7 separate regions of the Homo sapiens genome follow, and regions 1, 2, 3, 5, 6 and 7 are each linked to region 4. The links are contacts of gene promoters, found by promoter capture Hi-C in blood cells and fetal thymus (Javierre and others, 2016). All regions are on one chromosome and are shown on one strand. The core of a region is centred on a gene start or on the middle of the fragment in contact, and the rest is flanking DNA. Distances in the headings are between cores, read along the strand shown. Region 1 has its middle 37 kb from the start of MRPS22. Region 2 overlaps ESYT3 (extended synaptotagmin 3). Region 3 overlaps ESYT3 (extended synaptotagmin 3). Region 4 holds the start of FOXL2 (forkhead box L2). Region 5 overlaps MRPS22 (mitochondrial ribosomal protein S22). Region 6 overlaps PIK3CB (phosphatidylinositol-4,5-bisphosphate 3-kinase catalytic subunit beta). Region 7 overlaps CEP70 (centrosomal protein 70).

Region 1 (4,200 bases), core at 65-2,564, 360 kb before region 4:
AATATGCTGTGGGATGTCATCAGGGGTTCAGAGGCTTTTGATCAAAGGGGGAGGGGGAGCCAGGCCACACATCCCTGCTGGTTCATTTATCAGGTCAGTTTCAGCACCTTTCCTCCCAAGTGCCCTGACAAAGGCCTCCTCACCAGCCCACCATCAGCTCATGTGCTCCCTATGGGAGAGGAGCAGAGAGGAAATGGTGTTCCAGTAAGGGGACAGTGGGGAGCAAGACACAAGGAGAGAGGGAGAGGAGCAAGCTGGGGGGCCACAGCATGGGCACTGGTCCTCGGGGCAGGGTACTTGAAGTGCTTTTCATTCTACACAGCCACGGGGACGAACACATACCAGGCAATTCCCTCGAAGCATGGAAAGGAAAGAAGGAAGGAAGGAAGGGAGGGAGGGAGGGAGGGAGGGAGACCTTTGGATGACTAAACCAAAGAGAGAATGAGGGACTGAGGGATCTATAAAAGAATGAATAAAGGAGGGGGAAAATGATTGAATTAATGAGTCAGTAAATGTCTGGATGCAGTCATAAATTAATGATTTACAGCAGTCCTTACAAGAGTGGGACTTTTTGCACAGACTCATCTCTCATTTTTTCTTCAATTCAGCCATTGGTTGGTGTTAAAAAGACCCAGCTTGGAGGAGCAACACTAAGGCAAGTTTGAAGTAATTCAGGCTTCACCTCCACCCCAGCTTCTCCCATCCAAGGGACCCTCTTCCTTTCCTTTTGGCCCACTTGGCATTTGTTAATAGGCCCTGTGAGCTGGGCAAGAGCAAATGAGGCCTGGAGTGGTTGGGGGACTCACACAGAGGAAGGGGCAGCACAAGGATGGGGCCTGCCTCTCATCTCATGCCTTTTCCTGCAGAGCCAGGTCCCTGAGGAGGAACTGGTATCTGTCACAAGCTCTGTGTGTCCTCAGGCTGCAAGGCTACTGCCTACTGTGTCCCTTGAAGAACACCCCTATTGGGAACTTTACAATGGGAACTCCAAAGAGCCATGTAGGGTTTGCTTTAGAGGCTGCTACACTAGACTCTGAGGATTTAGATTAACCTAATTTAATGACACGGATGACTGCCTGGCTTGAAGTTCCTTGCTACAATTTTTTTCTTTCAACTCGCTCAACAATTATTTCCCTCAAGTTGGTTGCAGATGCAGCCTGCCTGGGAATTATAATCCATTCCTTACTGAGCAGCAAGGAGGCCAGGGAGATGCTGGCCCCATCTACATGCACACCACCCAGGCACGGGGGCTGGTGGGCAGGCAGCACTGTGGGCTGTGTCTGTGCCACTGCTTAGAACTTGCAAAAAAGGCCTGAGTCTTGCTAGGCTAGGCTGGCTGTCCTGGGACCCGGCAGGCAAGAGACTCCATGGAGACACAGCTGGCTGGCTCCTGACTGGGTGGTGGCTGTCTCTATCCCCTGCTCTTAGCTCAGAGGGAGCATCCCCACACAGACACGCAACACACACAGTCATGCACAATCACAAAAGACACATATGGACTCATCCAAGATGAGATGCACATGGACACTCAGTCACAGATGCACACAAACACACACATCTAGATACGACCCCCACACAGAGGTACTGAAAGACACACACATACCCCCAGACACACCAAGCTCATCCACCCCAGTATCCCACTGTCCTTAGCCTGGAATCTGATTCAACTCGATCCAACAACCACTTATGGAGTGCTATCTGCATGCAAGTTCTCAATGAGCAGACCCAGAAATATTCATGGCCTAGGACTGAAGATCACAGAGACACATAATTCATTCAGCCAGTGCTTAGCAAATGCTCCAGTGTGGAAGGCTCTGCAGAGGGCAGTGGAGGGCACATGAGTCCCTCCTGTGTTCACAGATCTCATGACAGAGATAAAGGAACATCCATCCTGGTTATCACCCAAAAGCAAGGTTTTAAAGAAGGCCTCCTCTGGGCTGGGCCCTGGAAGATACTGCCTGCACCTTCCAGAAGCCCACATTCAGCTGGGGAGGCACACAGGTAAACAGGCCATGGCACCACCATATTCCAGGGCTGTTACAGGGGGCTGTAGAGTCCTGAGGAGCCTGAGGGTTCTTGGAGGGCTTCCTGGAGGAGGTGAGGGACTAGATAAAAATAGCAGGATGGGCACTCCGGGTATGAGAAGGGGCTCAGGCAAAAACCCAAGGCCACCAGGGAGAAGCTATGTTCAGAGAAGGGCAGTTCATAGAGTGGGACTCGGCCATGGGGAACATCTAAAGGAGTCAAATGCCAGCCTTGCTGCCCTAGCAAGTCAGCACCAACTTACAGGTAACAATGCTGCTGTAATTTGCATTAAAAACACCTTTCCCCTGGAGTAGGAAGCTGTTTCAGGATTTTCCCATGCTGCCCAAATGCATTGGCCATGCTACTGACCCCCATCTCGCCCCTGGCCCCCTCCCCTGCTGGTTTCCAGTACTTTCAGAGGCTGCTACAGCCCAAGAGAAAGATGTGCTCTGGGATAACTCCTCACTGCTGTCTGTGGGCCACCGCCTCATACCCTGCCAGTACCTAGGCCCTGGCCTGGAACAGGATTTCTAAGGCCACAGTCTTGATTTCATTTGTCCTGGGTAGATGCAGGGGCTTGGCCAGTTGTGAGACCCTATACAATGATCAGTTCTTAGAGAGATTTGTCACCTAGAAAAGCCAGATAACACCCTGAGCAGCCAGTTCCCAGGGACATGGCCCTGGCCCAGGTTTTCCCCCTGGAGTGCCCCCTCCCTTCATTCTTCCCCATTTTTCATCCTTCCTTTCAGCTGGCTAACTCTAGCCCTTCCAGACCAAGCTGACATGTCACCTCTCCCAAGAAGACTTTCTGAGCCCCCATCCCCAGTACCCCAGGGGAGTCAGACACACTTTCTCTGTGCTCCCCTCTATGGCCCTTATCAAGCAACACAGTCACTGTCTGTTTACTTAGTGATCTCCCCAGAGATCCCGACAGCTCTTCCTGTGGCCCGGACTCCCCACAGAGCCTATGCACCAGCTATTTATTGCTGCCTAACAAATTATCCCAGAACCTAGTGACTCAAATCTACAATAGTTATATTTTACCTCCAAGGTTTCCAGAGGTCAGGAATTTAGCACAGATGGGACACTTTGTCCACAATGTCTGGGCCTGAGCTAGGGTCTGGGACCATCTGAAGGATCATTCACAATGTGTGGTGGTTGATGCTGCCTATTGACTGCAGGACTACCTGGGCCTCTCCATGTGACCTGAGCTTCCTCCCAGCATGGCATCTGGGTTCCAAGAGCAAGCATCCCAAAAGAGAGTGTGGGGTTGTGGGGAGAAAGAGAGAGAGAGGGAAACAACTGGAATCTGTATCCTTTTTATGACCTAAAATCAGAAGTCATATAATAGCACTTCTACCATATTCTATTGGCCAAAGCAGTCATACACACCCATCCAGATTCAAGGGGAGTAAATGCAGGTCCCCCTAGGTGGAAGGAGTGTCCGTCACCCTGCAAGAAAGGCATATGGGGTGAGATAAACATAGGGCATGGCTATCTTTGGAAAAAATAATATGTCACAATCTGTTACCAATAGATGCTCAACGAAGGGCTGTTGAGTGAATGAATGAATGAATGATCCTTTCTCTGCACTATCCATCTCCCCTCTGTCCTCAGACAGTTCTTCTCAGTTCAGAATCCAACTAACTCTGACAATCCCAAGCGCCAGGTCATAGCCCCTCTTTCTGTTTTGGAAGCCAAGGGGCCATGAACTCCCTCCCAGCTCCAAAGTTGTCAGAATTGTCCCCAGAGTTTCAGGGTGTTCACTGTGGTTTTCAGAAACAGGGCAATAATGTCGAGAATTAGAGAGGCCACCAGAGCAGAACCGGGAGGCAGTTTCCTTGCTGATCCACAGACACAGTTTTAGGAGGAAGATCTAAGGAATTAAACATTAGGGGAAAGCTTCTTTTAAAGGTTTTCAAGATTTAAATAACTGTCTTCAGCTATTTTTTTTTAGGAGAAAAAGAACTACTTGTACTATCTGATAATATTTTTCGAGCTCTAATTTTGGTTTTTTTTTTTTTTTTTTTTTTTTTTTGAGATGGAGTCTCACTCTGTCGCCCAGGCTGGAGCGCAGTGGCGCGATCTCGGCTCACTGCAAGCTCCGCCTCCCAGGTTCACGCCATTCTCCTGCCTCAGCCTCCTGAGTAGCTGGGACTACAGGCGCCCGCCACC
Region 2 (4,161 bases), core at 1-2,500, 480 kb after region 4:
CTCCCCAGCTCTCGTTCCTCCACTTGCAGGAACTGCAAGCAGATAAGAGGGTGGCTTATGAGCTGAGTCACCACTTCCACAACCTCAGCCATTGTTTCCCGTTCCCCCTTTCCCCTCAGTTGTGAATTATAAAGACCCTTCCTAGGGAACTTCCATTTCCAGTAATACATATGGTGTTCCAAATATTCTGAAAAACTTGTTAGAAATGCCAAATAAAATGAAGCAAACATCCTTTGAAATGCATAGCCAAATTCACAAGAAAATAAGGATAATTCTGTTAAAAAAAGAAAAAATCTGAAAAATAAGTTAAGCTTTCCTAGGGTTGTATATCAACCTTGGAATTCAGGGAGTTAGAAGAGGCTGTGAGGCTAGGAGCTGAAGGGAAGACCCATGAAGGTGGGATCTCTTTAGTTAAAAAAGTAGTTTAGGATAAAAATTATTCGGCCTACCAGCAAAGACTGATGACAAGAACATGTGTTTGCCACAGCCTGTACTCTGGTTGAGGGGATAAAGTCTTTCCTAATAACATGGCACCTCATAGGCCTGTCCTCATATGAATTTTGAGTATAAATATGAGCTACCTATGGGATCTTGAAACCCAAAGTTAAGAAATATACACAAAAATGGACTCAAGTTTGTAATGCACCTGAGGTACTGAGCTGCAGCAAAAGCAGAAGCTCCTTGGAAGAGAACAACCTCGATCCAGGTCATAAAGGAACACTGAACATATGTTTGCAATCCAAGTTATAAAACAGAAATGAGTCACCATCAAAAAGCATCAACAGACAAAACAAACATCAAAATTTAACTCCCAAGATCTTCAAATAATAGAACATACATATTAATACATTGTAACATATTTTCAAATGACCAAAGATGGAATATAAACATGAGAAGATAATAAAATTCTATGAGAAAATACCAAATAGATTTGGAAAAGATAAAAATAGAAATGAAAAACCACCATTGAAAAAACTATGAACAGGTTAAACAGCAAACTAGGCATAGCCAAAGAATTAGTGGCCTGGAAGATAGCTCTTGAGAGAATTAGAATGTACCACCATGAATACAGAGAAGGGAAATATTTAGTTGAGGTCAAGAGACATGGAGGATAGATGAGAAGGTACATTATAGAAAATTCTAGAGAGAGGAATTTAAGAAGAATGGAGGAGAGGCAATATTTGAAGAGCCTGTATCTCTTTGAATATTGACTTGCTCCCATTCAGTATTTCAAAATTGATGAAAAACATGAATCCATCTCCTGGCTTCTTCCAGGCACACAGCAGGTGCTTAGTGCTGGGGCAGTACACCTTGCTCCATTGCCAGAGCTCTATTCCTCCCCTCCCCCAGGGGACCGGAGAGATTTACCCGAAGCACCAGCCTCATGGAGATGAGGCTGTCCAGGCCTGAGTGGTCCAGCTGAAAGCGCTGCTCAAGAGTGAGGTCAGCATAGGGGAGGATCTGGCACAGGGGGACCTCCAGCATTCCCAGAGCACACTCCTGGTCATCATCAAGCACCTGGGCAGTGGTCCAGTCACAAAACAAGAGGATAACCAAGCCCCACCACTCCACTACTAGTATCTGAGCCCCAGCCAAGTTTGGGTTTACTTCAGTCTGTACTGTGCTTCTATGGGCATCTGGTCCTATTCTGAAAACTAGAATGGGATCAGGCCAGACCTGGTCCTTGTCTTCTGTCAGGGAAGATAGTGACTCAGAGTAGAGGCAATTATGATCTGTATGAGCTAGTCTGTCAAATGCCCAGAGCCAGGGGGCTTTGGGGACTGATGAGCTGTGCTGCTCTCCAGGCAGGGCTCAGGGCCCTAAAAGATCCCAGCTCCACCACTTGTTGGTCATGAGATCTTGGACAAGACATTGTTTTTGCCTCTCTTTGCTTACTCTACAGATCTTTTGTGAAGATTAAATGAAACATATATTTTTTAAAGTACACCATTATTAATGTCCTGTGTAGATAGGCTGCTCTGGGTACTGTGTAGCAAATATAAAGACCCTTTTGCAGGGAAAGTCAAGGGACTTGAGGATTTATCCTCCCACATCCCCCTATACAGTGACCTCAGGCACTAGCCTTAAGGAGATGAGGCCTTGTGGGGCCTCAGTGTCCTCTCTTACATACAAGGGGCTGACTTTAAACGCTGCCAGGAGAACCTGCTCAAGGTGCACTTCAAGCTTCCCAGCCCGCCTGGCTTAAAAACCTCTTAACTCTGTTTCAAGAGCCCTTCTTCCATCAAACCTTCAGATGGAGCCGCTCAGTGGCCACATTGTGCACAAAGAAGGAGAACACCTGGCTCCACACAGGGTCCTTGTTGTGGGGACAGGTCTGGGAACAGAAGAGGGAGAGATCATTGAAGGGTTAGGTTGGGCAGAGCTGGATACCGGCACCCTCTGCTATCACTCTGGCCACCAGGTACCATTGGGAACCTTACCTATATGCCCTGGGATCAGACCCAAACACGCTACAGCTAGTGGGAGGCACTAGGACGGGACAACACTCAAAGGCAGGGAGTGGTTTGCCAGGAATTTTTACGGGGGAGCTGAAAATCATATTGGCCTTAGAGCTCACTTCAGGAGAGGAGAGGCCAACAGGATTTCTGCTGCTGGACTGAGAAAATTCATGATTGGTGGAAAGGACATGGGCTTCAGAACCATGCCCAAGCTTGAACCCTAGTTCTGTGTCCTTGGTCAAGTCATTTATCTCTGATCCTCAGATTCTTGAATTATAAAACTATTTTGTGAGGTTATTCTGAAGACTAAATAACATCAAGTGCCTACTAGGCATTCACCATAAGTTAATTCCCCTCCCTTTTGCCTCTCTCCCTGAGAAGGGCTGGGTCCTTGTTTCCTTACCCCAGGGCTACACACCAAGCTGTCTTACCTTACTTGTATGTGTCTTCTTGCCTACAGATAGTTTGACATAGGAAGAAGGGTCTTTGCTGACCTTGTTCTGTGAGGAATCAAATCCATAACAGTGAAGGTGGCATAGTCAATATCAGCTTGAGACAGTCCTACCCCCAACCCCCAGGAGCATCTGGGGGAACTGGGGCCACCCAGTTACTTCTCTTTGAGAGAAAGCTACTCTAATGCCCCAGTCCCCCTGGGCTGTCATTACTGTGCGAGCCCCAGGACAGGACCAACCCCAGAAAGCAGTTCCAAGTTAAAAGACCAGAAGCCAGAGCTGGGCCTGGCCAGGCACAGGCTCTCGTTCCCTGGGGCTATGAAAACAGTGTGGAATCTGGCTCCTCCTCTTAGCTGTGTGACCCAGAAAATGGTAATAAAAATGAATGACACAGTCATCATGAGACTCAGGGATAACAAATGTGGGGGATGAGTTGCCAAGCCTAGTGCCTGGCACACAGTAGACTCCACAATCAGCACCTCTTGTTATCCCCAGGCTGTGTGTGCACAGACTGTGGCCCAGAAGACATGGGGTTGTGGTTACTCTGGGGAGAGAAGCTGTGATTTGCCCTCCCTGGAGTTTTTAGCCACATACTCACTCACTCTGGCAAACCTGGAGAGTTTTTTGGCTCGATATTCACCATTCAGGTAGTCAAAAGGGTTTCTCTGCAGCACAGGAATAACGGGGTTAAAGCAACACAGGACAATTTGAAAGTGATGGGCACTTTGTTGCGTTTGTGTGACACTCTGGACATGTCGCCACTCACCGGCAAGTTGCAGGCACTCTCCAAGAAGACCACGAGAATGGCAGTGGAAAGGCCACCATGGTCCTGCAAACAGACACAGACCCTCACTGGGTACTCCCAGCAGCAGGACACAAAGACTGATTTTGGAGAAGCCTACTCATGGCAGAAGAAAGCCAGCTAGCCTTCACACTCCAGACTAGCTGCCGGAGGACCTCTCACAACCTAGCATTTTGTTGAGGTTAAGACTATAACTGGTGCATGACAGATTCAAGTTAGACACTGAGTGGATTTCCCTATGAACTGGGAGGACAGGCATTGACACAGAGTTCTAAGGACCCCATCATCTAAAGATGATGGAGATGCTCAGAGGACATTTGCTGAGAGCTATCAGGAGCTGCCCTGTGTGGAGACGGGCTGAGTGACATGTTCTTCAGGAGGTGAGCAAGAAGGGGGCATCATCTCCCACCCTTCCTCCACCTGCACACACCTGGCACGTGTGCTCCTC
Region 3 (3,901 bases), core at 1,031-3,530, 490 kb after region 4:
CACAGGAACTGGAGGAAGCTGGCAATACTCACAGGGGTGAATGAATGCTTATGGCAGCTGAAAAACATTTTTTTAAATGTTCATGGGTGTGTGAAGAAAGGGGGTGTGGTGAGCGCACTAGGTCCTGGCCAAGCCCAGGAGGGTCGTGTGAGGAGTCCTCTGTGACCCCACGATGGTCAGGAGGGGACATGGGAATGGGAGAGCAGAGGGAGGGGGGTGGCCAGGACATGAAGAGTGCTGAATGCCAGGATCAGGAGGCAGGTGTTTCTCCTGCAGGGCTGGGACATCTGTTCAGCCTGCAGCTTCCCCCTCCAGGTTCTTCTGATATGGTAAATATCATTTCTTAGGATTGCTTGCCAGCAGTGCTACATCCCATAGACCAACGGTCCCCAATCTTTTTGCCACCAGGGACCAGTTTCTTGGAAGACAATTTTCCCACAGACCGGGGGTGGGGTGGGAAATGGTTTTGGGATGAAACTTTTCCACCTCAGATCATCAGGCATTAGCTTCTCATAAGGAACATGCAACCTAGATCCCTCACATGCGCAGTTCACACAGGGTTTGTGCTCCTATAAGAATTTAATGCCGCTGCTGATCTGACAGGAGGCGGAGCTCCGGCAGCTCCCGGCTGCTGACCTCCTGGTGTGTAGCCTGGTACCGAGAGTTGGGGACCTCTGGCATAGAGACAACCACCAGAGGAGCAGCCTGACTGAGCAGGCTCTGCTGTGAACACAGCACCCTGCAAGCTTCTTGGCTCCTAGCCTGCTGAATTCTTCAAAAGCCAACTGAGCCATCACCTTTTCCTGGAAGTCTTCCCTGACTCCCACAGCCCCTCCACCCCTCCATTTCTGAACTTGCATTCCTCTGCCATCATGCACGCAGATACTGCCACGTTGTCATCCACCAGTTGATGTGTTCCTCCCACAGGAAGGGGTGCAGCCACACCCAACTCTATGATGCCCAGCACACAGCACGTGCTCAATAAGTCACAGGTGAATGAAACAAGAAATGAATGCATGAACCAACAGATGCTGGCACAAGCCAGTTTGAATGGCAGAAATCCCAATCTCCAGGGCTCAGGCCTGCCTAATCCACCCCTGCCCAGGGGCTAGCCAGGAAGGGCTGGCAGACAGCTCTCTCAGCAGGCTGGCCTATACTTGGACACCTGCTCGTTGCTGGGAAGACCGGATGCCAGTGCCTCTCATTTACTGGGTCACAGTGGTCTCTGGCTGAGGGATACATTTTGGATGATCAAAAGATTCAAGTCACTAGGGGCACTTCGAGGCAGGAGGCGTAGGGCACCAAGGCTGAAACAGGAAGCCCAGTCTAGAACAGGGACCATGACATTAGGTGTGCTGACACAAACTTCATTGGCCACAGACCATTTCATCCTGGGACACCTGCTGATCTTCACAGAACTAGCATGGACTTGTAACACTGAGTGCCATAACAGCCAATTAGTGGAGAATATAAAGCGCTAGGCGGCACTGACTATCCAAACTGTGAGCGTGTGTTCACCGGCTCTGAGGTTAGCAACTATGATTTCCATCTTTGTATCTGTCTGGCTACCACCATGGCGTGTCTTCAAAGTTTTCCTTAAGAAAAGTGGAAATATCTCCCACCTCTCCTTTCTGTTCCCTCTGAGCCAGGCTTCCTTGGAACCTGGGGAGATGATGGTACAGGGATGTGGGGGAAGGGTGTCTACTGAGGCTGACAGGCTGGGAAATGCAGGTGGTGGCGGGAGGGTGTCCCCCTGTAAGGTCCAGTGGGATCTCTGCAGTCATATGACTGACCTGGGTGGGAGAAAGGTGGGAGGAGAGGGAACAGAGAGAAGACTGCACAGCCAGTCCAGGCTGACCCTCCCGAGACACACCCACCTTCTGTCCAAAGTAGAGCTTGGTAAAGGTAAAGGTCCTCAGGTGGATGCTCTTCTCTCGGATCTTGGGCTCAAGTTTCTCCCGGAACTTGCTTTCCATGATCATGCTTAGGTAGGGCCAGGTCTGAGAGATGATCTGTGAAGACGGGAAGAGGCTCTTGGTAGTCAGGTCTGTACCCCCACTGCAGACCCACAGCTGCATGGGACAAGGTCCTGATTCTCTGCAGCCTGGTCTTGGGGTGGGGGTTCCTATGCTGCAGCACTCACCTGCTTGCCTGCCCACCCATCTGCTCACCTGTTCATCTGTCTGTCCGTCAAACATCTGATAACTACAGCCGTGGTTCCCACTGTCATGCAGGCAGCAGGACCCCAAGATTTGGTGCTATTCCGCAGAGCACCAAGAAATACTCATTCACTACATTTATTATTAGAAAGCCCTTTAGTTCTGTGCTAAAACATAATCTCATTCTACACTGTGGTTTAAACAAAAAGTAGCAGATGCCAGAAGTTTAAGAAAAAAATTACAGAAGAGAAAGTTAAATTGTTTCCTGTGGATTTCATTTTCTAGCAATCAGAAAAGGCAGCCTTTGCCCGATTTCTGCAGCAGAATGACTCACTGTGCTGATTTGGGAATGAAGTGCAGGACCTGGGGAGAAGGAAGATGGCAGAGACAGGGGAGGATGGTGGAAATCAGAGGGGAATGGAGGGCGGGCCAGCCAGCAGGTACTTTCTGTTTGGGGCAAGGCTTCTCCATCTTCTTTTTCTTTTTTCTCAAACGGAGTTTCGCTCTTGTTGCCCAGGCTGGAGTGCAATGGCACGACCTCGGCTCACTGCAACCTCCACCTCCTGGTTCAAGTGATTGTCCTGCCTCAGCCTCCCAAGTAGCTGAGATTACAGGTACCTGCCACCACACCCAGTGAATTTTTTTAATTTTTAATTTTTTTTTTATTTTTAGTTAGAGACAGGGTTTCACCATGTTGCCCAGACTGGTCTTGAACTCCTGGCCTCAAGTGATCTGTCCGCCTTGGCCTCTCAAAGTGCTGGGATTACAGGTGTGAGCCACAGCACCTGGCCTTCTTTTTTAAGACAAGGTCTCACTCTGTCGCCCAGGCTGGAGTGCAGTGGCATGATTACAGCTCACTGCAGCCTCAACCTCCCAGGCTTAGGTGATTTCCCACCACAGCCTCCTGGGTGGCTGGGACTACATGCGTGCACCACCACGCATTTTAATGTTTTTGTAGCGATAGGGTCCCCCTGTTACCCGAGCTGATGGATGTTGATCCAAGATTGCTATTTTCACATTACCAGACGTGTCATTGCTGAGTGCATCAAAAAGCATTCCCTAGCCAGGCATGGTAGCACACAGCGGGGTCACAACTCCTTGGGAGGCTGAGGCAGGAGGATCGTTTCAGCCTAGGAGTTCAAGGCCAGCTTGGGCAACAAAGCAAGACTCCATCTCAAAAACAACAGTAACAGCAAAAGAACAGAGAACATTCTCAGCCTCTGGGTAAATTTGGAAGAAGCAGGTTGCTGCTTTAAGAGGAGTGACTGGGTTTCTGGGGATTCATGCAGGACCCAGCGCCTCTGGGCAAACCTTGTAGAGTTCCTCCTGCACTGTGTTAGCTGGTTCATGCACCTCTGCCTGCGTTACATCTTTCTTTCAGTAATACACAGAGGCCTACACAAGGCGTTGGAGATACAAGACTGTATCTTTCCTGTGGGCTTGGGCTTCAGTTTAAATATGCATTTCCTTCCTCCATGTGCCCCTTCCAAAGCCATCATTGGAGGAGCCTAAAGGCTGTGAGATTTTAGGGCTCATTGTTCCCATCTCTCTCAAAGGCCTCTCCAAACCCCAGGTTCTACTTTCTTGGGTCTGGTCTCATCTTCCTGTCTTGCTGGTTTGTCACTGGCCAAGTGCCTCCTGAGTTTAAAGCTTGTTAGGACACACTCGGTGCCCTAGTATGTGGTTTACCTACACAACTGTCTCTGTCTCCCCATCCAAGATGAAGGTGGGAGCCTCATATC
Region 4 (4,114 bases), core at 985-3,484:
CTCTTTAAAGGCTGAAAAGGGAGCCGAGTGTGGAATTCAGGGAAGTGATGACACACACAACAATGCTGTTACACCTGGCTGCTGCAGGGCTGAGCAGCGGAAATGCCTGTGAGAAGAAGAAAGAAAGACAGAGAGACGCAGAGAGCCAGCCTGGGTGGTCAAGAAAAAAAAAAAGGAGAGAAAAGGAGAGAGGAGCCCCCACCAGGATGGGGCCAGACCCAGCTGTTTTTCCCCCTGCCCAGGCCCTGGCTGGGGGAGGATAGGCACTGAGGCCAATCTGCAGCAGCCCCAAACCGGACTCACCACTCCCACCCAAAGCTTGGGCAAGGATGGGGGTAAGGAAGAAGAAAAACATCTGCACTCCTGCTCAGAAAGCAGCAGCAGGGATTCTGCGGAAGTGCTGCTTCCCCCATGTCTGTTGGGTGCAGTGGGAGACCGCCCATAAAAAAAACCAAGCTACTTTGGGGATAGCCTTGCTCCCTCTCATCCTTGTGACCAGGCAAGGGCTGCCCTGCTGACCTCTCTGGTGTCATCTTCAAGATGCTGAATTCCAAAGAGCCCTACCACCCTTGTCCTCCCTCCCTTTCATCTCAGAATGCAGATCAGAGGCCTGAGTGAGCAGCAGACAACACTTGTAGATGGCCTGTGGATGCTGGAACCACAGGCCGCTGAAGGCTCCTTGGGCTTCAGGAGAACCCTCAGAGTCTAAACAGCCTGGGAGGAAGAGGCAGTGACAGGCATTGAGTCAGCCACTCCAGACATGCCAATCACTAATGCACAGCTATATGACATCCATTCAGTCCACCTTCCTCCATAAGGTGGCCTTGCCCCCCTCCTCAGCACCAAGGAGTTTGGGGCTTGAGGATTCAAAACACTGGCCATCTCTCTCATACTTTATGACTGCAGACTTTTTGTTTAGGCCAAGTTAAAAGGCACTGTTAAGGAGCACACTGTTAAAAGGCACACCTGATTTTCCCTGAAACAATCTCTGTACATGCTGAAATAATTGGATTCCCATCAGAATTCTGCTTAAGGTAGGTGACAACTAACTCCTGATTCTTTGGAGAAAGATCAGAACAAATGTCTCATCAGGAGAGAGATTTGAACAAGTCCCTCCCTCAGCCTGATGTTTGTCTTCCCAGTCTGTGGCAAAATACATACACTGGGAGGGAAAGAGGCATCGAAGAATTGTGAAAGAAAGGAAGAAAGGGGGGAAGGAAAGAAGTAAGAAAGGAGAAAAAGAGAAGATGCTATATCCACCAGCTACATTTACTCTAATACTTGATGAACATATTACATAACTATCAGTATAAGTGTGTTTTACCTCGTAAATACAAATCTCACACCTTGTACATGTGCATACCTGTGTTTCTGAGCAGCACACATGCACCTGGTATCTCACCCATCTCAAGGACAGCTCCTCTCCATGACTTCCATATGTGACCCCTGTGCACACACATACACAGTCCCGCAAAGTCCCGGGCAACAGCCCCGCCTGTGTTAGTGCAATAGCTGAGGGGCATCTACTTGGTGCTGTTAAAGCACACATCCAACCTTCACTCCAACCCCGTAGGATTAGTACACGGATTCCTGGTTCCTAGATCCACTGGTAACGCAGGGAGAGGCAGAGGTGATTCAGGCGGCGCCCCTGACGACTATTTCCAGAGATCCTCTCCCCTGCCCCATTCCAGCCCAGTCACTCTGAGAGCGCGAGGGACAGGCCAGGCCGAGGCTTCTTCGTACAGTCACACCCGTTTCTGGGCTGACTTTCCCAAAGCCTCAGAGCAGCTCTCCCCACCCTACCCCGTCCAGCCCCCTCGCCGTCTCGCCCCTCCCCAGCCCCGAGCTAGAAGTTCAGCCTCAAGACGGCAGCAAACGGCAGAGCAAAGGAGTCGTTTTCTTTCACCTGAAAGCCGCGAGGAGGCTTGGAGCGCCTTTCCTCGCTGGGGCCCGAGCTTCCTGGGCTTTGGCCGGGTGCGGGCAGACCCCACCGGGGTCCTCGTCATCTCCCAGCCCAGCCCGCAGAGCGAGTACCGGCAGATTTCAAGGGCGCGTGAGCCTGGCTGTCGGCTGGGCCCCTGAGGCTCGCTGGGCGGGGGCAGGCCGGTCCAGGCTGTGCGGGGCGTTTACAAAAAGTGACTTGGAGATGAACTCGCCCGTGCGCGGCTGGCCGCCCCGCTATAGGGGCGAAGGCGCCTGACGCAAGCGGAACTCGGTGGAGCCCATACGAATCAGAACAGAGCGAGGCTCCTGGCGCACTAGGGACTCCAGGAGGCAGCTCCGCCAGAGACGCGGGTCGTGCTTCGGGAAACCGGGGGGCGGGGGGAGGGGAAGAGCGCAGAAAAGAAAACCCACCAAGGCGGGGACTGGCCTGAGCGGGGAGGGGCGGCGAGGCCGGAGCCCCTCTCTGTTGGGCGGACTCCCCATGGCCAGAGGCTGAGCTCCACTCCCGCCGGCCGCTCCCTAGGGGAAGGGGAAGGAGAGGGGAGAGCAGCGACAGGCCTCCAGCAAGCAAGCGCGGGCGGCATCCGCAGTCTCCAGAAGTTTGAGACTTGGCCGTAAGCGGACTCGTGCGCCCCAACTCTTTGCCGCGCCAGCGCCTGGAGCGGAGAGCAGAGGCGGCCCGGCCGCGGCGCGCCGGCTTTGTCATGATGGCCAGCTACCCCGAGCCCGAGGACGCGGCGGGGGCCCTGCTGGCCCCAGAGACCGGTCGCACAGTCAAGGAGCCAGAAGGGCCGCCGCCGAGCCCAGGCAAGGGCGGTGGGGGTGGCGGCGGGACAGCCCCGGAGAAGCCGGACCCGGCGCAGAAGCCCCCGTACTCGTACGTGGCGCTCATCGCCATGGCGATCCGCGAGAGCGCGGAGAAGAGGCTCACGCTGTCCGGCATCTACCAGTACATCATCGCGAAGTTCCCGTTCTACGAGAAGAATAAGAAGGGCTGGCAAAATAGCATCCGCCACAACCTCAGCCTCAACGAGTGCTTCATCAAGGTGCCGCGCGAGGGCGGCGGCGAGCGCAAGGGCAACTACTGGACGCTGGACCCGGCCTGCGAAGACATGTTCGAGAAGGGCAACTACCGGCGCCGCCGCCGCATGAAGAGGCCCTTCCGGCCGCCGCCCGCGCACTTCCAGCCCGGCAAGGGGCTCTTCGGGGCCGGAGGCGCCGCAGGCGGGTGCGGCGTGGCGGGCGCCGGGGCCGACGGCTACGGCTACCTGGCGCCCCCCAAGTACCTGCAGTCTGGCTTCCTCAACAACTCGTGGCCGCTACCGCAGCCTCCCTCACCCATGCCCTATGCCTCCTGCCAGATGGCGGCAGCCGCAGCGGCTGCAGCAGCTGCGGCTGCAGCCGCGGGCCCCGGTAGCCCTGGCGCGGCCGCTGTGGTCAAGGGGCTGGCGGGCCCGGCCGCCTCGTACGGGCCGTACACACGCGTGCAGAGCATGGCGCTGCCCCCCGGCGTAGTGAACTCGTACAATGGCCTGGGAGGCCCGCCGGCCGCACCCCCGCCTCCGCCGCACCCCCACCCGCATCCGCACGCACACCATCTGCACGCGGCCGCCGCACCGCCGCCTGCCCCACCGCACCACGGGGCCGCCGCGCCGCCGCCGGGCCAGCTCAGCCCTGCCAGCCCAGCCACCGCCGCGCCCCCGGCGCCCGCGCCCACCAGTGCGCCGGGCCTGCAGTTCGCTTGTGCCCGGCAGCCCGAGCTCGCCATGATGCATTGCTCTTACTGGGACCACGACAGCAAGACCGGCGCGCTGCATTCGCGCCTCGATCTCTGAGAGCCCACCGCATGCCGGTGCAGACGGATGCGAGGATGCAGGGACGCGCGACGCCGGCCCCGGTCGCAGCCGACGACGCCGCCGCCAGCCTGACCTCACACCCTCTGGGCCCGCCTCTGGAGCCAGCGCCCAGGGTCCCTCTGTGCTTTTTCGCTTTCCTAAGCTCCTGTCGCTCCTCTTTGTCCCCTCAGTTTATGTCCTCCTGTGCTCACCTCCCTGACCTCTGTGACCTTGCACTCCCCTGGCCTGAAGCTGCCTCTCTGCGCGCTTTCTACTGGGCTCGTCTCTTTCCGGAGCCCCAGCGTCTCCTGCCCAAATTCACCGCGGAAAGGGCC
Region 5 (2,700 bases), core at 22-2,521, 400 kb before region 4:
AATGCAATCATGCATATGAGATCAATGATAATTTTAAACCTCAAAGACTTGGCAAGGTTTGATATTTCCTTCACTAATCACTGCTGTGCATCTGACAATCAGAAATCTAAAATGAAAGTATTCAGTAAGTACCAACTATGGTGCTAACGTGAGTTCGATACGAAAAAAGCTGAGATTCATCTATATCCATTTTAGAGGAAAGAAGTGCTATGACCTTTCCAAACTTTCATTTCTCTATCCCAAAGTCTCATCTAAACAGATTTTACTACTTTATGATCTATGTTTAAAGTCCTTGGGATAAAAAGAACAAACCCAAGAATGAGGAGTCTTACTTCTACACTTTTATGATTTCTTATATTGGCATTAGACATAAACATGTCTGAGAGGCTGTCTGGTCCAACTGTCTCTGGTCACTTCGATCTTCCAACTGCCAACTCCCAGGCCATGGGATCACTTCCTCCTCTAAATTCTACCTACTTTTTATACCATTCAACTGGAAATTTACCCCACACAAGATTTTTGGCATCCCTCAGATATTGTTATATAACTGGAAAAGGGCAGGAAATGTGGATTATAATTTTTTGCAATACCGGGAGTGGCATACATGGAGCTTTGCACATTGCTGATAATTGATACACACCTGATTAATGTATAAATTAACCAAACAGTACTGACTCTCAAGTTTTCAGAGGTGTAGGAGTCTCTAAATGTGTTCTGAAGATAACATAGATGAAACTTCCATCAACACTGCCAATCGAAAAAAAAAAAGCACATGCCAACATAATACAATTTTTCCTCAGAAGGATTTTGGTAATTTGAGAAACCTGAATTCCAAGTTCCTTTCTCCTTTTCAAGTTACAAAATGCTTCCCAACCAACATGCACAGCACTGCAAACATATATTAAAGCATCACAAAACAAAAACTGTAATTAAAATTGAAACTCTGTGACTCATGTTCATTATGTCAAATATACAGATGGCTGGTGTTGAACATAGCTCAAATCGTTTTCTAACCATAATCATGTATAATAAAAGATTAATATGGAGTGAACCTTCTCCTAAACTCAGCATTCTATAGTGTTCTAACGTATTCTGTGGGCTGAATTGTAAACTATTCTCTTTTTATTCTTTACTTGCAAAGGCTCAAATACAAAGCTTACATATTTCTAAAATGCCAGAGTGTTCTTTTAAATTTGCAATCAAGTAAAGAGGAGCCAGAGAATAACAATCACAACAGAAGAAGTGGTGATGCCTGAAAATTATCTGAGAAACATCTGTCATTCTTACTGAAAATTCTGGAAAGCGAAAATCCTTTATGATGCCTGAGTTTCTTGGCATCATCAAGGAATTTATAAGACAGAAACATTCTATCTTCTCAAAAAGCTTCAGCTAAAGAAATCCATCTAACTTAGGCGAAAAGAGTCTCCTGCTTCCATTGCCTTGTAGATTTTTGTCCATTTGTGGTTTGGGATGGGTTTCTGTCTGTATCTGTGTACTCCTTGTTCTGCCTCAGCACATCTGGAATCTGGAAAATACTGTGCCTATTATCTGCTGAGAAATGGTAACACCATGATGTGGGGCTGGTCTGCATTTCTCATCCCTCATATAGTATATCTTCCAGAAGGGTCTCACCCAGTCAGAGGAAATCTGGTTTGGACGCATCAGAGACAGCCAGGTCACATCATCTCTCAAGCCCTTCTCCACATAGTATTTCAAAGAAAGATCATTTTGCGATTAGACATATACTCACCCGGTGTGGTATGCTATATGATATATCAGTAAACACATATTTGGTTGTTTCTGTTCCTTCCAAAATCTTATCTTCAGCTAACACATCATTTATTGGTACTCGCTCTTCCAGAACTGGTGGCATTTTTAATCGTACTTTAGCTGCCTCAACTGCCTGTCTTGTAGCCTAATGAAAGAAAATATTTATTAAGGAAAGCCACAAGGTTACATAATATAAGGATCATCTGACAAAAGCACATACTAATAAAAAATGCAAAAACCTGCATAGAAAAGAAGGTGTAGCCACAAATCAGTGAGTAAAAAGCCAAACCTGGACTTGTGAGCCCTGGCCTTTGCCTCTGCGATGTGGCTGAGACCACCAGCTATAGACTCAACCGTTATCAAAACCACAAAGGCATGCTCTGAGACAAAGCCAGGCTACAAAAGCTGCTTGAAACAGAATAAAAGAATGCAGTTTTGGGGTGCTTACTATGTGCCAGATAGTGTTCAAACAGTCTAAATGTATTTGGCTGATTTAATGGCCTCAATTACCTTATGAGTTAGGTGCAATTGTTATCATCTCCATTTTACAGAAGAAAAAACAGAGGCATACAGATGTTAAGTAAATTGCTAGAAAATTGCAACACTGGTATTTGAACCTAGACAACCCAACTTCAAAGCCCATTCTCTTAACCATTGACTACATTGCTTCATGCCATACTGTTAAAAGCAGTTACCTCTAGGAGGTGAAAAGATGGACTTTTACTCTTCATGTAATCTACTACTGGAGAGAGATATATATATTTTGCTGACTATAAATTACTTTTGAATCAGAAAGACGAGTATTAATGCTTTACGTATTCATACATCAAAGTGTTTTCCACGCAGCACTCAGTACCCATGGTACTGAGGACACTGGTGCCTGGAAAACATGCTGTTTCCATGCAGGATCTCACAATCTCCCCAAAGCTT
Region 6 (4,157 bases), core at 857-3,356, 290 kb after region 4:
CACGCTTGGAGGCTGAAAACCTTTTTTGCTTCTGTTCTTTTCTCTTGTTCAGGGATGACCTGGACCGAGCCATTGAGGAATTTACACTGTCCTGTGCTGGCTACTGTGTAGCTTCTTATGTCCTTGGGATTGGTGACAGACATAGTGACAACATCATGGTCAAAAAAACTGGCCAGGTGAGCTGCTCCTCAGGATCTGCCAAGGGCCTTAGTAATGCTATTTCTTATGTATAGCATAATCTCTTGTGCAACTCAGCCAGATTCTTTTGTGATTCTTAGTGTCATATCTTTGTCTTTACTTCAATTTCTCACTACCTCTCGTTTCATATATAGTCTACTACATGTATTCATTTGTTTGCTTGCTTGATGGTAAGCATTTATTTGTTTAAAAAATTACTAAAGGCTGTGTGTGGTGGCTCACGCCTGTAATCCCAGCACTTTGGGATCCCGAGCCGGCCGGATTACCTGAGGTCAGGAGTTTGAGACCAGCCTGGTCAACATGGCGAAACCCCGTCTCTACTAAAAATATAAAAATTAGCCAGGCATGGTGGCAGGCGCCTGTAATCCCAGCTACTTGGGAGACTGAGGCAGGAGAATCACTTGAACCTGGGAGGCGGAGGTTGCAGTGAGCCGAGATCGCCTCACTGTGCTCCAGCCTGGGCAACAAGAGTGAAACTCCATCTCAAAAAAAAATTATTGAAAAAATTTTTGTAGTTAAAGTGGCCTGTTCTTCAATATAAGAAATAGTATTTGGGATACATTTGTACCTAACAGAAGGAGCGGATAATGTACTGGATGTATTAAATTTAAAGATTACCAATGCTATTCATATCCTTTGCCCACTTTTTGATGGGGTTGTTTGTTTTTTTCTTGTAAATTTGTTTGAGTTCATTGTAGATTCTGGACATTAGCCATTTGTCAGATGAGTAGGTTGCGAAAATTTTCTCCCATTTTGTAGGTTGCCTGTTCACTCTGATGGTAGTTTCTTTTGCTGTGCAGAAGCTCTTTAGTTTAATTAGATCCCATTTGTCAATTTTGGCTTTTGTTGCCATTGCTTTTAGTGTTTTAGACATGAAGTCCTTGCCCATGCCTATGTCCTGAATGGTAATGCCTAAGTTTTCTTCTAGGGTTTTTATGGTTTTAGGTCTAACGTTTAAGTCTTTAATCCAAAAGAAGACATTTATGCAGCCAACAGACACATGAAAAAATGCTCATCATCACTGGCCATCAGAGAAATGCAAATCAAAACCACAGTGGGATACCATCTCACACCAGTTAGAATGGCAATCATTAAAAAGTCAGGAAACAACAGGTGCTGGAGAGGATGTGGAGAAATAGGAACACTTTTACATTGTTGGTGGGACTGTAAACTAGTTCAACCATTGTGGAAGTCAGTGTGGCGATTCCTCAGGGATCTAGAACTAGAAATACCATTTGACCCAGCCATCCCATTACTGGGTATATACCCAAAGGACTATAAATCATGCTGCTATAAAGACACATGCACACGTATGTTTATTGCGGCACTATTCACAATAGCAAAGACTTGGAACCAACCCAAATGTCCAACAATGATAGACTGGATTAAGAAAATGTGGCACATATATACCATGGAATACTATGCAGCCATAAAAAAGGATGAGTTCATGTCCTTTGTAGGGACATGGATGAAATTGGAAATCATCATTCTCAGTAAACTATCACAAGGACAAAAAACCAAACACCGCATGTTCTCACTCATAGATGGGAATTGAACAATGAGAACACATGGACACAGGAAGGGGAACATCACACTCTGGGGACTGTTGCGGGGTGGGGGGAGCGGGGAGGGATAGCATTAGGAGATATACCTAATGCTAAAGGACGAGTTAATGGGTACAGCACACCAGCATGGCACATGTATACATATGTAACTAACCGGCACATTGTGCACATGTACCCTAAAACTTAAAATAAAAAAAAAAAAAAAGATTACCAATGCTAAAAAAAAAAAGTTGGGATGAACCCCACTTGAGTTATTTTCTCTTTTAGAACATCATACCTAATTATATATGGGAGAAGGGAGAACAGTCGTGTGAGTAATAGCATTCTGGGGTACCTAGGGAATCTAGACCATGTTGTTTATAAAGTACTTAAGTTTTCAAATGAAAATTTCATTTTTCAGAGTGACATATTTGTAAACACTTTTTATGTTAAGCAAAAACAGATGAGATATCTTAGATAATTTTTCAGTTTAGCCCCCCTAGGAATTCCCACATTAGAGGCATACTAGAATGAAAATCTCTCTGGGTCACTGTGTGAACTTTGGTTCTATGAGGGACCCACAGTTTTGTATCTCCTTGGAAATCTGGATTAGTTCTGGCTTGGGCTTTGAGAGTTGATGTGGAATGAATTTGTAATGCACTATAATACATGAATGCACCATGTACGATTGAGGAATCTCGTGTCCATACTTAAAAGGAGTCCCTTGGACTTCCGTCCAATCACATTAAACACTTAGATTTATCTCCATTTTCTTCTTTTACACCTCTAAAACAATAATAAGGAATTAAGAAATATATAAACTCAAGAAGTCAAAGATGATAGGAAAATAGGCCACAGTGGGTGAAACCTATTACCAGACTTCGGGGTGATAGAAAGTGAGATAGAGAAGTGGCAGTGACTTAGCAGAACTGAGAAAATAGAAAGTCAGTACTTGTAAAGGGGTACGCAAGTCCCATAAAAGCTCTGGAATCAGAGGCACCATGTATACTGTTCAAGGAGGGATACAGAAAGAGGCTGAAACAGAACTAGTTGGCAGCTTATATATGGAACAGTTAGGCACTCAAGTCCCCTTCCCTATGCCAAGAAGGAGATAGATTTATTCTCTGAAGAAACTGGTTCTGACTCAAGCACACTTATTTCTACAGAGACTACAAGAAAGGGTCCCATATTAAAAATGGAGATGGAGTGAAAGTCGGCGTAGTAAATGGTACAATCTGCAGCCACTTCCACTTGCTTTATTCTAAGAACAGTGGCAGCCAGATGTATAGTTGACCCTCATCAAAAGACTAGGTGATTCTATTCTAGAAATCTGATTGGTTCCATTGAAAAGTCCTGCAGATCTGACAGTTGAGATTTCTCCCTAGTTTCTATACAAGGAAGTCCACCAATCAACAAGCAAGCCTACCATGTACATAGAATTTTCATTCAGCTTTTTAGTGATTCATTGTTAAATATGAATGGTCAGCTAAGGATTAATATACTTTTAAAAAATGACAAAAATTGAATATGTTTATCATGTACGACATATTGTTTTGAAGTATGTCTTCATTGTGGACTTGATAAATTGAGCTGACCTGTGTGTTACCTCACATACTTATCTTTTTTTGTGATGATAACATTTAAAACCTAGTCTTTCAGCAGTTTTCAGGAATACAATATATTGTTGTTAACTATAGTTGCCATGTTGTAAGACAGATCTGTTGAACTTATTCCTCCTAAGTGAAATTTTGTATTATTTGACCAGTATCTCCCCAGCACCTGCAGCCACCATTCTACTCTCTACTGGATTAGCAGACATTTAAGGGAAACCTCTACCATGAAAGATAGAAACCAAATAAGCAAAATAGGGAAGAAAAGAAAAGAACTCTGGGAAAACAGGGTAACTGCAGTAAACAGAGGGTGATTTTAAAAATCAAAGCAAAAAAATATATTGTATCTTTAAAGTAATAATAGGATTCTGTTTTTTACAATCAGCACATAGAGGTCTTGAAAATTAGAAATAGGAACAAACAAAAAGTTAAAATAGAAATAGTGTAAATATTTTGTGGCAGGCATAGTTGTAAGTGCTTTATATATAATCTAATGCCTTCAGGCCTGATGACAACCTTATAGAGTGGCGGCAATAGCCCCATTTTACAAGTGAGGATATTAAGGCAACAGAGAGTAGACATATCAGGATTTTAACCCTGGCAGTTTGGCTCATATTCTTTTTTTTTAATCCACCATGCCTTAATATCTCCAAAAAATATGATAAATAGAGAGAAGATCCAGAAACAATAGAGACTCAGTCCAGGGAGGTATACTCTCAGCCTAATGGATATTCCAGAAAGAAGGAGAATGGCGTGAACCTGGGAGGTGGAGCTTGCAGTAAGCTGAAATCACGCCACTGCACTC
Region 7 (3,867 bases), core at 956-3,455, 440 kb after region 4:
ATTATTATTAAGTAAATCTATTTTCTTAGGGTCCTTGTATGGCTTTTGTTTTTGTTTAGAGACCTTAGTTCATCTGAAATTTAATTTTCTATATGGTGTGATATAGGGAATCTCACCTTCCTAGTTTTATAGATCATTTATTGAATAGCTGAGCAGTTAAACCTGGTAGTTTAGTGACTGAACTGGACTTTCACTCACATTTTATTGGGTACACATAAGATTTTTAAGTTTTAGATTATTCATTTTTTTAAAAATTAAGATATTTTATTTTTTCTAGGCTGCTATTTCTAACTTCTCCTAAAAAGTCAGAAGATCTGGCAACAAATTCCTGCATGGTTATTATCACAGCAGAATTAGGCCTTTCCCTTGTCAGATATGAGCATGTGTTCTATAGTTAGCAGTCCCTATTCATCCTTACGTCACTCATTTATACTCGTACCTGAATTCTCTGGGCATTTGTGTTTGCAGTCTCTAATACGCTACTTTTTTCTCTACTTTATTGAAATAACATTTTATCATAGATCATATTCATTTATATGCACAGATTTGTTTTTAGATTCTCTAGTCTGTTGCATTTCTCAACTATTTCCATATTTTAATTTCTATAGTTAAAAGTTTTAATAGCCTTTGAGGCAAGTATCCTATCATTAAAAAAATTTTTTTTATTGGCTATATTTTTAGCACATTTATTCTTCTGGATGAACAGTTTTTCAAATTAAAAAATAAATCTCATTGAGATGAACTAAAATTGAATTGACTTTATAGATTAATATTTGGAGAAATGACACCTTAACCTTTTTGAATCATCACATTCAGAAATATGTACTTTCATCAGGGTCATCTTTTATAGTCTTCAATAAAGTGTTGTGTATTTTTAAATTTAGCTCTTGCATATTTCTTGTTAGGAAATACCTTGTTATTTCCTAGGTATTTTATAACTTTTATTGCTATTGTAAATGGGAACCAAGCACCTTTCTGAAAACTGTTTTGTTTTAGACTTTCTTGTACCAGTATATAACTGGATTTCATTTTGTTTCTGAGACTCAATTTGAGAGGCTTTGTCCTTTAAAAGGGGAATTCAAGCCGGGTATGGTGGCTCATGCCTGTAATCTTAACACTTTGGGTGACCGAGGCAGGAGGATTGCTAGAGGGCAGGAGTTTGAGACCAGCCTGGGCAATATAGTGAGACCACATCTCTAGAAAAAAAAAAATTTAATTAGCTGGGCATGGTGGCTTGTGCCTGTAGTCCTAGCACTTGAGAGGTTGACATGGGAAGATCACTTGAGCCCAGGAATTCAACGCTGCAGTGAGCTCCGTTCACACCACTGCACTCCATCTTAGGCTGCAGAGTGAGACTCTGTCAAATAAATATATAAAACAAATATACATACATCAATTTGAAGTGAAATATTGAATTATACTAATTTGGACTTAAAAAGCTTCTAAATAAACATCTGAAGTAATAAACATCTTAAGTCATATTACCAGGAGGCCTATTAGTTATATCTTGAAGTATGACCAGGGACAAAGATTCAAGAGCAAAATGCTATCTTTATATTGTGAAACTTTTTATTAAATAGGCTGAACTTGATGGTGGTAATAGGAAATGGCTTTATTCTTCTCTCTTTAAACATGCTTTTTGAGGTCTCCCTTTTTTTCCTCGGATGATATGTAAGGTAGAACCCATCACTTATGGGGAGAGGGTTATAGTCAAATAGTATACTATCTTAATATATTAAGATACCTAAAATTCAATCCAGGCATCAATGATATTATTTTTGGAGACAGGGTCTTGCTCTGTTGCCCAGGCTGAAGTGCATTATCATAGCTCACTGCAGCCTTGAATTCCTGGGCTCAAGTGATCCTCCTGCCTCAACCTCCCAAAGTGCTGGGATTACAGGCATGAGCCACCACACTCAGCCTGGGGATTGCTGTTAATTTCCTTAAATAGTCTGATAATGTTCTTGTGAGTTTGTAGGAGAATATGCCTACTTTTAAAAGATGCATGCTTTATTATTTGAGGGTGAAGAGTTTCTTCAAATGGTTCACCTAAAAATATAGATAGTGAGCAAATATGGCAAAATACTAACAATTTTTGAACCTAGGTAGTGTTTGTAATAGTTAATTTTGTTTCAACTTTACTGCGGCATAGGATGCCCGATATTTGGTTAAACATTATTCTGGATGTGTCTGGGAAGGTGCTTCTGGATGAGATTGACATCCGAATCAGTAGACTTTAGTAAATCAGACTGCCTTTCCTAATGGGGTGGGCCTCATCCAATGATTCAAAGCCCTGAGTAGAACAAAAGGCTGAATAAGAGGGAGCTCCTCCTCCCTGACTGCTTTCAAGATGGGACACTGGTTTTTTTCTTGCCTTCAGACTCAAACTGAAACATTAGCACTTGCAGGGGTCTCAGTCTGCCTGCATTTGGACTGCAAATACCCATTACCTTTTCTGGGTCTTCGCTTACTCACTGCAGATCTTGGGACTTGTCAGTCTTCATAATTGCATGAGCCAATTCCTTATGATAATTTTCTTTGTATATTTAATGAAATATGTGTATATAATATATATAGACATAAAGCACTCCTTTAAAATATATAACTTTGTAGGCATAGGATAAATATTTTGACTATATACACTATGTTTTTTTAAAGGTGCTGTGTAGCATCAATTCAATTATCCACAATCCAAGAGCTCCAGTAATAATTTATAAACAGACCAAAGGGGGAGTCCAAAATTTTAATAAAGATCTTGTTCAAGATTGTGGATTTGAGCATCTTGTTCCTGTAATAGAAATGTGGGCAGATCAACTGACATCCTTAAAGGTAAGGGGTTGACTATGATTATATGCTTTGAACATCTATTGGACTCTATGTGCTTTATTAATAGGACTTAATTCAGGGCTAAAAATTAAATAGGGTTTAATTTTTTTGTTTGTGTGTTAACTCTAAAGCTAAAAAAGCTTATTATCTAAAACCGAAATCTTCCTACTTACATATCTATTTTAGGTACTGTCTATTTGATGTTGTCATTACTGTAAGCTTTACCTCCTCTAAGATTCTACCAAACAAGAAATTTTGGGGTTAGTTTCCTTATTGAAAATCTATAGTGGATCCACTTTGTACTTCTAGGCCCTTCCCTGTTCTACCTTCATCTGCCTCCTTTTCATATCTCCATGCTGCGATTTTCCTGGCCCTTATCCCTCTTCAGATATAATGTCTTATCCTTCATTTTATTATAATTGGGGATATTTTCTCTCTCTTCACACTTTATTTTCTGTCTCTCAGAACTGAGCTTATCTCCATTTCTGCTTATTCTCTAGAACAGATAGTAAGCTAGCAGCCAACGCTACCCTTCCCTATCCTATCTCTTCATGGAAGACCACATTTTATTTATAGAGTTATTGTGTATTTATTGCATAGCTTCAGGTTTTTTCAGTTTTTGTTAACTAGTTTGCTGAAAGGTAAATAGTTGAAATCAGTAGTATTTAACTTCTTTGCCCTTTACACTTTAGATTTATTAGTAACTAATATAATACATAGCATATGCCTGTTAATGAAAATGTGATTCAATAACAGTGTTTGCAACATAAGTCTTATTACATGAAGTACAAATGATGCAGAAGATATCTGTTAAGAATGTATAAGCTCCATGAAGACAGTGTTTTTATTTGTTCTGATATGTCCCCAAGATCCTCCTGATGAATGAGTGCTCAATTAATATTTGTTAAAAGGAATGAAGCAGAATATTATATTCCAAGACAACAAAATTGGGGGTGGTGATGTTAATTTTTTTTAAATTTCGACTTCCCTTTTTATATAGGGCTCAGACAGAGCTATACAATACATAAACATTTTGATTGA

The links. Contacts are between HindIII fragments. The CHiCAGO score rates a contact against its expected background, and 5 or more counts as called.
Region 1: a contact is called between a fragment that was not itself captured here and the fragment with the promoter of FOXL2 in region 4, in 4 of 17 cell types (megakaryocytes, naive CD4 T cells, endothelial precursors and 1 more). The highest score is 6.3, in megakaryocytes.
Region 2: a contact is called between a fragment that was not itself captured here and the fragment with the promoter of FOXL2 in region 4, in 3 of 17 cell types (erythroblasts, megakaryocytes and M0 macrophages). The highest score is 9.2, in erythroblasts.
Region 3: a fragment that was not itself captured here is called in contact with the fragment with the promoter of FOXL2 in region 4 in 1 of 17 cell types (megakaryocytes); the score reaches 5.5 in megakaryocytes.
Region 5: a contact is called between a fragment that was not itself captured here and the fragment with the promoter of FOXL2 in region 4, in 2 of 17 cell types (megakaryocytes and erythroblasts). The highest score is 5.5, in megakaryocytes.
Region 6: a contact is called between a fragment that was not itself captured here and the fragment with the promoter of FOXL2 in region 4, in 1 of 17 cell types (neutrophils). The highest score is 5.4, in neutrophils.
Region 7: a contact is called between a fragment that was not itself captured here and the fragment with the promoter of FOXL2 in region 4, in 1 of 17 cell types (megakaryocytes). The highest score is 5.6, in megakaryocytes.

The regions. Positions count from the first base shown.
Region 1 is chr3:139,305,023-139,309,222 of GRCh38, reverse strand. No RefSeq gene overlaps it. Among named protein-coding and RNA genes, the nearest start is that of MRPS22, 37 kb to the left of the region's middle. The HindIII fragment of the contact is 5,231 bases long and covers 1-3,929 here.
Region 2 is chr3:138,468,234-138,472,394 of GRCh38, reverse strand. It overlaps ESYT3 (extended synaptotagmin 3), which reads right to left. Exons shown (of 23, transcript NM_031913.5): 13 at 3,678-3,740; 14 at 3,514-3,576; 15 at 2,891-2,959; 16 at 2,249-2,335; 17 at 1,369-1,518; 18 at 1-32. Among named protein-coding and RNA genes, the nearest start is that of ESYT3, 36 kb to the right of the region's middle. The HindIII fragment of the contact is 1,873 bases long and covers 314-2,186 here.
Region 3 is chr3:138,453,305-138,457,205 of GRCh38, reverse strand. ESYT3 (extended synaptotagmin 3) reads right to left here. Exons shown (of 23, transcript NM_031913.5): 3 at 1,878-2,012. Among named protein-coding and RNA genes, the nearest start is that of ESYT3, 21 kb to the right of the region's middle. The HindIII fragment of the contact is 3,063 bases long and covers 749-3,811 here.
Region 4 is chr3:138,945,257-138,949,370 of GRCh38, reverse strand. FOXL2 (forkhead box L2) reads left to right here and starts at 2,234. Exons shown (of 1, transcript NM_023067.4): 1 at 2,234-4,114. The coding sequence starts at 2,649. The coding sequence ends at 3,779. It overlaps FOXL2NB (FOXL2 neighbor), which reads right to left and starts at 2,154. Exons shown (of 3, transcript NM_001040061.3): 1 at 1,907-2,154. The coding sequence starts at 2,006. RefSeq lists a silencer at 1,990-2,218. The HindIII fragment of the contact is 4,318 bases long and covers 321-4,114 here.
Region 5 is chr3:139,347,375-139,350,074 of GRCh38, reverse strand. MRPS22 (mitochondrial ribosomal protein S22) reads right to left here. Exons shown (of 8, transcript NM_020191.4): 3 at 1,751-1,915. Among named protein-coding and RNA genes, the nearest start is that of MRPS22, 4.7 kb to the right of the region's middle. The HindIII fragment of the contact is 228 bases long and covers 1,158-1,385 here.
Region 6 is chr3:138,659,925-138,664,081 of GRCh38, reverse strand. It overlaps PIK3CB (phosphatidylinositol-4,5-bisphosphate 3-kinase catalytic subunit beta), which reads left to right. Exons shown (of 24, transcript NM_006219.3): 21 at 53-176. Among named protein-coding and RNA genes, the nearest start is that of FAIM, 53 kb to the right of the region's middle. The HindIII fragment of the contact is 8,823 bases long and covers 1-4,157 here.
Region 7 is chr3:138,504,257-138,508,123 of GRCh38, reverse strand. CEP70 (centrosomal protein 70) reads left to right here. Exons shown (of 18, transcript NM_024491.4): 13 at 2,659-2,829. Among named protein-coding and RNA genes, the nearest start is that of ESYT3, 72 kb to the right of the region's middle. The HindIII fragment of the contact is 1,527 bases long and covers 1,442-2,968 here.